2 separate regions of the Homo sapiens genome follow, and region 1 is linked to region 2. Evidence: promoter capture Hi-C in human tissues and cell types (Jung and others, 2019). All regions are on one chromosome and are shown on one strand. Each heading gives the region's core, a stretch centred on a gene start or on the middle of the fragment in contact. The rest is flanking DNA. Distances are from core to core; before and after follow the strand shown.

What was found. Contacts are between HindIII fragments. The study calls those that stand out against the background at their distance.
Region 1: a fragment that was not itself captured here is called in contact with the fragment with the promoter of CLSTN1 in region 2 in 2 of the 25 tissues and cell types used here (dorsolateral prefrontal cortex and mesenchymal stem cells).

Annotation. Positions count from the first base shown.
Region 1 is chr1:10,179,087-10,184,074 of GRCh38, forward strand. It overlaps UBE4B (ubiquitination factor E4B), which reads left to right. Exons shown (of 28, transcript NM_001105562.3): 27 at 330-476; 28 at 809-2,153. The coding sequence ends at 870. Among named protein-coding and RNA genes, the nearest start is that of KIF1B, 29 kb to the right of the region's middle. The HindIII fragment of the contact is 5,206 bases long and covers 70-4,988 here.
Region 2 is chr1:9,821,036-9,826,189 of GRCh38, forward strand. CLSTN1 (calsyntenin 1) reads right to left here and starts at 2,930. Exons shown (of 19, transcript NM_001009566.3): 1 at 2,608-2,930. The coding sequence starts at 2,698. RefSeq lists silencers at 2,652-2,731, 2,742-2,891, 3,062-3,111, 3,132-3,191 and enhancers at 2,804-3,520, 4,581-4,640. The HindIII fragment of the contact is 7,682 bases long and covers 711-5,154 here.

The sequences.
Region 1 (4,988 bases), core at 1,423-3,922, 360 kb after region 2:
TTCAAAGAATTCCCAGAAGTCCTAAGACAAAGAATTCCAGCCTGCCGTCCTCGCCACGGAGCCTGTGGGGCCTGCTGCTGGGTCTGTCCCAGGCTTTCTTCTCTGTTCCCTCCCCCCAGCAGTAGCTGACAAAGAAGCGCCTTCCCCTTACAAAAGGCAATGTATATGCCTTTATTGAAGGCTGATTTCCTTCTAAACCTGGGGGCCTCACAGGGGCCCTTTGATTGCTGTTCCTTTGGATAGATTTTTCGCTGGTAGAACGGGCTTTGTTTTCTTTTTCAGTCGTGGGCTCTCAGTAGATTAGAGTTTGCTTTGCTTTGTCCCCGCAGACCCTCTGATGGACACCCTCATGACAGACCCCGTGCGGCTGCCCTCTGGCACCATCATGGACCGCTCCATCATCCTGCGGCACCTGCTCAACTCCCCCACGGACCCCTTCAACCGGCAGACGCTGACAGAGAGCATGCTGGAACCAGGTAGAGGAGGGTGCAGTTTGAGGTGCAGCGCTGGCGTCAGTACCAAGAGATAAAGCCCAAGTCACATATTGGAGATGAAGCAGAAGGGAAATTTATCAAATGCAGAAACTACCTACTTTATGACACTCTGTAGCAAAGACCCAAAACACTCTTGGCCCTTTTTCCCTGCAGACATCCAGTCCCTCCCTCTCATGTCCCAGTCCTTCTGGAGTCTTCGGCTCAATGAGGGAAAGAATGGCCTTTTCTTCCCATTTATACAGAGCGACAAGCATCCTCTCTCAGGAAGAGCCCTCCCATCTGGGGCATTAATCCTCCTTTTTTTCTTTTCTCAGTGCCAGAACTGAAAGAGCAGATTCAGGCGTGGATGAGAGAGAAACAGAACAGCGATCACTAAACCGTTCCGCCGCCCACCCTCTGCTAGACACAGCCAAGGCCAACGAGGCAAGCAGAAGCAGCGGCCGCAGCGAAGCTGCCGTTCATGTGTTGGAGGCCAAATGTGGCAAACCAACCCCAGGCCCACCCAGAGCGAGCAAACGCTGAGACCTGAAAGGACATGGATGAGAAGAGGAGCCCGCTTCCTGTACATATATTTAAGTGACAAACACGGTCAAAAGCTTAAGGGACAGGTTTTATGGTTGCTTGTGTAATAAAGCATGTCCTTCGTATGTCACAGTTTGGGGCAACGGAAGTCTTTTAGTGATGGCTAATGGGTCTGGGCAGCATCCCTTCATGAATTTTTTTTTAATCCAATATCCGTTGATTTGATTGTGATTAGAGAACCTTGGACATTTTGCTGCTAAAGAATCTTTTTTCCCCTCTCCCCCTTCCTGACCCTACTTGCACTGCTGTGGATTTTTTTAAGAGAAGCAAAAACAAAAGTAAACTCCTTTCCCTGGCCCTCCAAACATATATTCTGTGAGATAACTGTGCCTGCTACCAAGTGTTAATCCTGGGATCGTATTTTTATATCATATTCACATATTTGTTTTTTTAATTGGTGTTAGATGACATGATTAATAAAAAAGGCAAGATATTTTCAGAATTTGAATTTCAGTTTTTTTTTTCTTTTGAAATGTCCCTTTAAGATTTTTTTATTCTAAACAAAATAAAGAAAATCCTGCTGCTCTGGTCCTTGTGATAAGCCTCTCTTCGGCATCTGAGGAGCAGCTGCAGCAAAATCTAGGGGTGTAAGTGTATCAGGACTTATGTGACTTATATTTTGGGGAGATGAGGGTTGGGTTTTTTTTTTAATGCTACGTGACAGTTTGAAACCTTCACAGTTATCCTCTGGGGGTAAATCAATTCTTCAACCCTTGGGTGTGTGAGTTTGAGGCAGGGTCATTTGTGTGATGTGTTTGGCCTTACCAAAGCAAAAGAGGGTGCAAGAATGTGGGAGTATGTCTGCCGGTTTCAACACACACAGACAAACACAGCCACACGCGCACACAAGTATAAGACTTTTTGTATTACTGCTCCCTACTTAACATACTTGAATTCTCAAATTTCCTTTGGGGTAAAAAAAAAAAAAGGATTTGAAACCATAAAGTGTTCTGAAGAAATTAAGTCTATAAAAAGCATACTTTCTTTTTTCTTTTCCTTTTTTCCCTCCACAGACAATGTCCTCTGTTCAATTCCTAACGCAAACTACAATAAATGGTGACACACGTTCAGAAGAAATCTTCTTTGAGTCTCTTCTCTTTTGTGGAAAAAAAAAAAGGGCAGGGCGGGTGGGTAAACAAGAGCCAAGTGAGTTTGCATGTGGTGAATGATCTTTCCTGGATCCAATTAGGAGCTGCTATTTTTAAAAGAAAACTTTCTTATTCATGTCAGTCTCGACATTTGGTTCTCATTTCACTGTTTGCTGATTTGAGGGGGTAAGCTTTGTCATATTCAGTCTTCTGCCTTTCTTGAGTTTCTTCTGCTTTATCTCAAGTATCTTCCCTGACCTTCAAGATTCTTCCTCAGGCCGGGCCCGGTGGCTCACGCCTGTAATCCCAGCACTTTGGGAGGCTGAGGCGGATGGATCACCTGACGTCAGGAATTCGAGACCAGCCTGGCCAGCATGGTGAAACCCCATCTCTACTAAAAATACAAAAAATTAGCCGGGCGTAGTGGCAGCGCCTGTAGTCCCAGCTACTCGGGAGGCTGAGACAGGAGAATTGCTTGAACCTGGGAGGTGGAGGTTGCAGTGAGCCGAGATGACGTCATCACACTCCAGCCTGGGTGACAGCGAGACTCCGTCTCAAAAAAGAAAAAATATATATTTATATATATTTACATATATATTTATTTATATATATTTATATATATATATATAACATGGCCAGGTGCGGTGGCTCACGCCTGTAATCCCAGCACTTTGGGAGGCCAAGGCAGGTGTATCGTCTGAGGTCAGGAGTTCTAGACCAGCCTGGCCAACATGGTGAAACCCCATCTCAACTGAAAATACAAAAATTAGCTGGGCGTGGTGGTGGGTGCCTATAATCCCAGCTACTCGGGGGGCCGAGGCAGGAGAATTGCTTGAACCCAGGAGGTGGAGGTTGCAGTGAGCTGAGATCGCGCCATCGCACTCCAGCCTAGGGGACAAGAGTGAGACTTCGTCTCAAAAAATAGATAGATAGATAGACACAATAAATAAGGAAAAAGTTCATGATAGCAAAAATTTTAGGCAATATAAGCAAAAAGAAAAAAAATCCATATTCTCACCATGCAGAAGATTCTGTTTAATTGGGTTTACTTTTTACTAAACTTACATATCTAAGCTTAGTGCCTGTAGAATTAGGATACTGACTGGCATCTTGCCTAATTTTGTTTGTGTGGTTATCTGACCAGTGTGTACTGCTTGTCTCCTCTCCATCCCAGATTCCAAACTCTTATTTTAATCCTCCAGTTGTCCCCGTGAATGTAATAAAATGCTGCTTTATACCGCCATATGCACTTGTCGTTTTGAATAATTCAGAGGTTTCAAGGACCTGCCGGATAGGACAGAGACACAGTCAGTCTCCTGCCTGTACTATCTATAGGGGGAAGATGATTTGGGTTTCCATTTTTAGAGTCTCAAGAGTTGCTGTTTTGTGTTTGTCTGCAGTCTCTTAATTGTGGATATTGAAATAAATCCCAAAATATATTAAAAGTAGGTCTTGGCTAAAAGGAAGATTGTCAAATAAGAGAATCAGATTGGCAGAAGAGAAATGATCCTTGAGAGAAAGATGATTAAAATCTGCCTTGTGTTGTGACTCAGTGTTGTGTAGATTTTAAAAAGATATTGATTGAATATCTTTTGAAAAAAAAGCTGAGCACACCGTTCACTTTTTGTAACCTCTGGGTTTGGTACATCGAGTAGTGAATTTCACAGCAATTTGATTGGAGTGCTAAAGTGACATGAATAGGCCTCATTTGAGTAGGTACTTTTTTTTGTTTTTTGGTTTTTTTCAGACGGAGTCTCGCTCCGTCACCCAGGCTGGAGTGCAGTGGCGCAATTTTGGCTCATTGCAACCTCCACCTTCCAGGTTCAAGTGATTCTCCTGCCTTAGCCTCCCGAGTAGCTGGGACTAGAGCACATGCCACCATGTCCAGCTAATTTTTTTTTTTTTTTTTTTTTTTTTTTAGTAGAGATGGGGTTTCACCATGTTGGCCAGGCTGGTCTTGAACTCCAGACCTCAAGTGATCCACCTGCCTCAGCCTCCCGAAGTGCTGGGATTACAGGCATGAGCCACCACACCAGGCCTCAAGGTACGTTTTTGATTGAAGGAGACACAGTAGCCTATGAGCTTGATGCTGGTGTCAGATAGTGTTGGTGAAGAAAGTCATTCTGAATTGGTGATGATCATTTGCATTTCATGAGCATATTCTATGTGCAAGCCACTCTTACATGTATTAATTTTTTTTTTTTTTTTGAGACAGAGTCTCGCTCTGTCGCCCAGGCTGGAGTGCAGTGGCGCGATCTCGGCTCACTGCAAGCTCCGCCTCCCAAGTTCACGCCATTCTCCTGCCTCAGCCTCCCGAGTAGCTGGGACTACAGGTGTCCGCCACCATGCCCAGCTAATTTTTTGTATTTTTAGTAGAGACAGGGTTTCACCGTGTTAGCCAGGGTGGTCTCGATCTCCTGACCTCGTGATCCACCTGCCTTGGCCTCCCAAAGTGCTGGGATTACAGACAAGAGCCACCGCACCCGGCCACATATATTAATTAATTTAACCCTCCACAACCATAATGTAGTGGAACTGGCACATGAATCTAGGCCATCTGGCCTTTCCAGCCTCATCTCTTCCCGACTCCTGCTGTATGGCAGAGTTCCAGAATGCTAGAAGTTCAGAATAGCTCAGAATGCCCAAGGAGAAGCAGCATAGCATTTTGGAAGGGACTTTGGCCTTGAGATCAGCTCTAGACCTAACCCCCATTTTAAACAATTAGATAACTTCAATATCACAGCTTTCATTCGTTACTAGCCACTCACGTTGACCCCAGATGTATATCTCAAACCTCCACTTCTCTCCTGTACTGTACACACTG
Region 2 (5,154 bases), core at 1,680-4,179:
CTTCACTGTTCTATTTCCCGATCTCCATGAAGAAGGCAGGTAGCTGAAGGACATGACCGTCCAGGGCATGCCAAAGATATTTCTTCTAATATTTTGGCTTACTGAATTTGTTTTTAAGATGGAGTCTTGCTTTGTCACCCAGGCTGGAGTGCAGTGGCGCAATCTCGGCTCACTGCAACCTCCGCCTCCTGGGTTCAAGCAATTCTCCTGCCTCAGCCTCCCAAGTAGCTGGAGTTACAGGCGTCCACCAGTACACCCAGCTAATTTTTATATAGTTAGCAGAGATGGGGTTTCACCATGTTGGCCAGGCTGGTCTCGAACTCCTGACCTCAGGTGATCCGCTGGCCTCGGCCTCCCAAAGTGCTGGGATTACAGGCGCAAGCCACTGCACCCAGCTCTACTCAATGTTTTTTGAGAACTACAGCTATAATTAAAATAAAATTTGAGGGTCTCTACAAAACTAAGAGTCAAGATGCAATTTATATTAGAAAATCTATCATTTTCTGCAGCAGTCTGTACGTAATCTAACATTAACAATGATTAAAGGTAGCTACAGCATGAACAGGAGTTCATGTCGTACTGCCTTACAGCCGTAAAAAATTCAATTAGTTGAAATGATCTCTTAAAACGAGCCCACAGAGTGTCTCCAAACTGTAAATTTACATATGAAATTCACTTGTAATATTTCAAAATGAAATTGTTTATTAGCATTTCGTGTAATTCCAAGACATTTTCTAACTTGCAACCTGAAAAAAATGCATACGAATAACTGATGTGTAAAATGTCTTTATTCCGAAGACTAAGAATCTTGAACTACTGTAACTGCACCAAGAAAAACTTAGAGAAAGCAAATTACAAATGACTCAACTAGCCAACACACCTTTCACACAAGATTTCTGTCGGTCTCAGGTAATGAAGATATTCAAAGTTGAAATGTATGCTGTTTAAGTAACCAAGGCAATTAAATAATGACTAACAAATGTAGGTGCTATTTAAGAAAGCACCAATTTTAACAAGAAATGGTATCACTGACTAAATATACTTAAACTGTTCCCAAAATACCCAATCCAAGCACATATTTTTAAAATGTGTGGGTTTTCCCCAAGAGAAGCAAAACTTTTGACATTTCTCTTGGATATATTAGAGTTTCAGACCTCCAACCCACATCTGGAAAGAACATTTCAAACTTAGCTTGATGTTACTTTTAAAAATCAAATGGCCAGCAATGAGATACTTAGTGACTAAGATCTGAATTTGACAGAGTCAACAGAATGTTAGAAATGAAATAAAAGAAGTATTCAAAGTTTATCATCCTCGATGTTTAGAAAGGAACATGGAACAAAAGATGCATTTGCCGCCTCTGCCCTTTAATTCGTGAACACCATACTTCTCTCCTTATGTCACGCCAGGGAAGGGAAAATAAGAATTTTTAAAAAGCTTGCTAAATTCAAATATGACCATTTCATCTAGATTTCTATCAATCCTCCTCCCCAAAATTTCTTTTGATTAAAAAAAAATCAGAACAACAGATTTAAGCCTACAGTAGATTCTACAGACTACACCTAGATTACTCTGCTCTAAGGCCAAGGAAAATGTTTACGATTTCAAGATCCACTCAGAAGCAAATACTGTATCTGCAATGCGTAAGCTTTTCGTTGGCAAGACCAGTCAATAGCAGAGGCATGCAAGGTTTAAAAGGTTAAGTGGATGAAGGTTAAAAGCTAATAATAAATTAGCCAAGAAATACTACTTCCCACCGAGCCATAAAATAATTTCGGTCCTACAATCCTAAAAAACCAGAGAGGTTTCTCGTTTTTGTAGAGAACATCTAACCCTCCACGGTCTAAATGACCGTCAGAAAAACAGCACCAAGGCACCAGGGGTAGCAGAGACGGAGATTTCTAACACTGGGTGAGCCCGCGGTCGCAAATCTCATCGCGATTTCACCTTTGGGTGAAAAGGTGGGAGGGAAGCACTAAGTTTCAGCCTCGGCTCCACTGGAAACAGACAACGTCTGAAGGACTCTGGGAGGAGGCGGAAAGGGGCGAAGTCGTGGTGTCCGCGGTGCAGCAACACAGAATCGGGATCTTGGAAACGGGATGCGGAGGAGTGGGCTCTTATGTAAGCACACACCAAAACTGTGCGTGCACCCCCCGCCTGATGCACATCTGAGCACACGTACACAGAGCATCTCACCCAGGGGTGCAGCCCCAGCCTGCGTGCGCCGCTGAGCAGGGCGGACTGACCCTTCGGCCCGTCTGCACGTTCCCCCAAATCAGCGCAGCCACCACCATGGGCTGCAGTGGGGGCAGCCCAGGCTCAGGAGCCCCGCCCGGGACGGAGCCTGGCTTCCCCGGGACGCCTGCAGCGCGCGCCCACAGTCTCCTGCGCCCTGGCCCCGGCTCCGCGAGCCCGACCCCCAACCCGAACCCCACGCCCTGACCCGGCTCCCTGCGCTCGGACCCGACTCCCCGCATCCCGGCTCGAATCCCGGCATCCGGCCCTACTCCCGCACCCGGACCCGAATCCCCGCACCGGGACCCGAATCCTGCACCCGGACCCGAATCCCGCACCGACCCAGCGGCCCGGCCCAGCCCCGGGGCTTACCTCGCGCGGCCCAGACCCCGCCGCCGCACAGCAGCCCGGCCAGCAGCAGCCGGGCGGCCGGGGCCAGCGCGGGAGCGGGGCGGCGCAGCATCGCCAGCCCGGGGCGGGAGCGGCAGGGAGGCGCGCGGGACGCCGAGCGGAGCTCTCGGAGCTCTCGGGGCTCTAGGGGCCTGGGGCTAGCTGCTCCGCGGCGCGGGGAGCTCCGGGGGTCCAAGGAGGAGCCGCCGCCGCCGCCGCCGTGACGCTGGGCCGCGCGCTCAGGACGCGGCGCCCTCCCCGCCTCAGAGCAGCGTCTTGCTGAAGGCAGCGGCAGCAACTAAGATGGCGGCGGCGCTCTCTCTCGGGTCCGGCGAGGGTACCCGGCCGGGGGCGGGGTGGCGGCGGGAGGGGCGGGGATGGGGAGCGACGCGAGGCGCGCGCGCGGCGGACCCTGGGAGCGCGCGGGCCCGGGAGGGGCGGGGGAGAGGAGCGGAGGGAGCGCGCGCGGCGGACCCGGCAGCGGGCGCGCGCCTCCGAGCCCGTCGGCCCCGCCTGGAGCGCGCGCCCGCGGGGACGCGCCTGGGGTGGGTTCCGAGCGGCCGGGAGGGGCCCGGGGGACTGTATCCCTTTCCCTGGCCGCAGATGGAGAGCCTCAACTCCGCGTCCCTACGCGCGCTCCCGGGCTCCTAAGGCCGGGTGAGCGGTACCCGGGGACCCGCTCCTCCTTCTCCACCCCGAGGACTCATCCTTCCCACCCGCTCCGCCGAGGAGCGCAGACCCCGGCGGAGCAGTGCGGCCCAGGACCCTTGTCACTTCGGGCAGGTCGCGTCGCCCCCCAGAACCTCGGGGTCCTCGTCTCCCCAGTAGAGGTGTTGAGAGGGGTCACGAAAGGGGGTCCAGGAGACGAGGTCAGCGAAACGCGCCTGGTAAACAGTTAAGGGCCGCGCAGCACTACCCACACCGGCTCCCGCCCCGGGACCTGCCCCCGGGGAGTCTGTCCTGAATTCACTGAAGGAATCTATTTGTGACTTTCAAAAGGCGGCTGGTGTGCGCGCTCTTTCTCAGTGACATGGTGCGATGCTGGTTCTTAGAAATGCGGAGGTCCGAATGGATAGAGAGGACAGAGAAGCCCTCCCCCTCTACCGTGGATCCCTACAGGGATCTTGGGGTCCTCCCAATTTCCCAGCGTCCAGCGGCCCCCTCCTCCTCGCCTCTGGACCCCTGGCACCCCCCCGCAGTGGAGGAAAGGCCTGGAACAGCCGTGGATGGGCGTGTGTGCAGGCACTGTACCCTATGAGACACTACTGGCTCCATTTTGCAGATAAGGAAACTAAGTCAGAAAGGTGAAATGACTTCCCCCGTTGGGACAACTATTGTAAAAAGAATCAGCCCTCAAGGACAGGATGTTCGCATTAGGGGGACACCAACAGCAAAAAGTGGAACCCTAAAATGTTCATTTTTCGAGACCGCTGGAGGAGCTATCCATGAATGTCACTGCTCCAGGTGGGGGTGGAGGAGGCTGGCAGCACTGGAGGCTGGGTGGAGACTGGTTTGTGGGGCGCAGAGGACTTATTTAGGAGACTAGTGGGCAAAGAGCCCAAAAACGTAGACTGAGGTCAGATTGGGGGAATGGACTTGATCCTACAGTCAACAGGAAGACCTGGAACGGCTGGGAACAGCGGTGTGATGTGACCTGGGGAAGGCTTCAAAAGCAATCTGGAATCCAACTCCCTGAGCCGTGTTCCCCGTAAGCGTCCTGCACCAAAGCCTACAGATTCCATCTTGTTAATGTCTCTCCTTCCTTCCCCTGCTCCCCCTCCCCTGCGTGGAGGAAGACCGGACTCTCCTTGGCTGGACCCTTCCCAAAGCACCTGCCTGGCCCGGGCAGGCTCCAAGCCACACCCACCACTCCTTCCAGCCAAGGCTTTGAGTCATCCTCTCCCCTGGTGACGGGTGTTGCCATTGCTTCTGCCCCTCCTGGAGTTATAAACTCAGTGAGTGCCTCCCTGCTGCCACCTCGTCAGGTCCAGACATCTCTGCTGGGCTTCCCATCCTCCACCCAGCTGACCTCAGGGCATGCTGTCTGCCACTGTCTCTTCTTATTCATTCCCCTCCCAGGGCCAACATCACACTTCCTCCTCCACCCATACCCAAGCCTCAGGTCCTTACAAGGAGCTTCTGGGCTGTCTCCTTCAGGAAGTCCTCCTGCCAGCCCTCCCTCTCCAGCCCCGAGCTGCTCTAACCAAACAGTTCAGCTTTATAATCTGCTGCCTGTGCTGTCGACTGACTAATCCATCAGTGTCCTTTTCTCCTCCCCACTGTATTCTAGTGGGAAGGACCCAGATGGTCTAGTCAGACGGGACTGGACTTCAGTGCTGGCCTCTGCAAATGCAAACGACCTTGGCCAGGTTATGGAACTTTCAGAATCTCCTCACCTGCGAAATGGAACAATATGTACTTCTTAGAGTTGTGAGAATTAAATGAAATGATGCCACATAGATCTAGAAATACCAGGCTTTATGTGGCAAATAAATGAAAGTGCCACATAGAGCCTGGTGTTTCTAGATA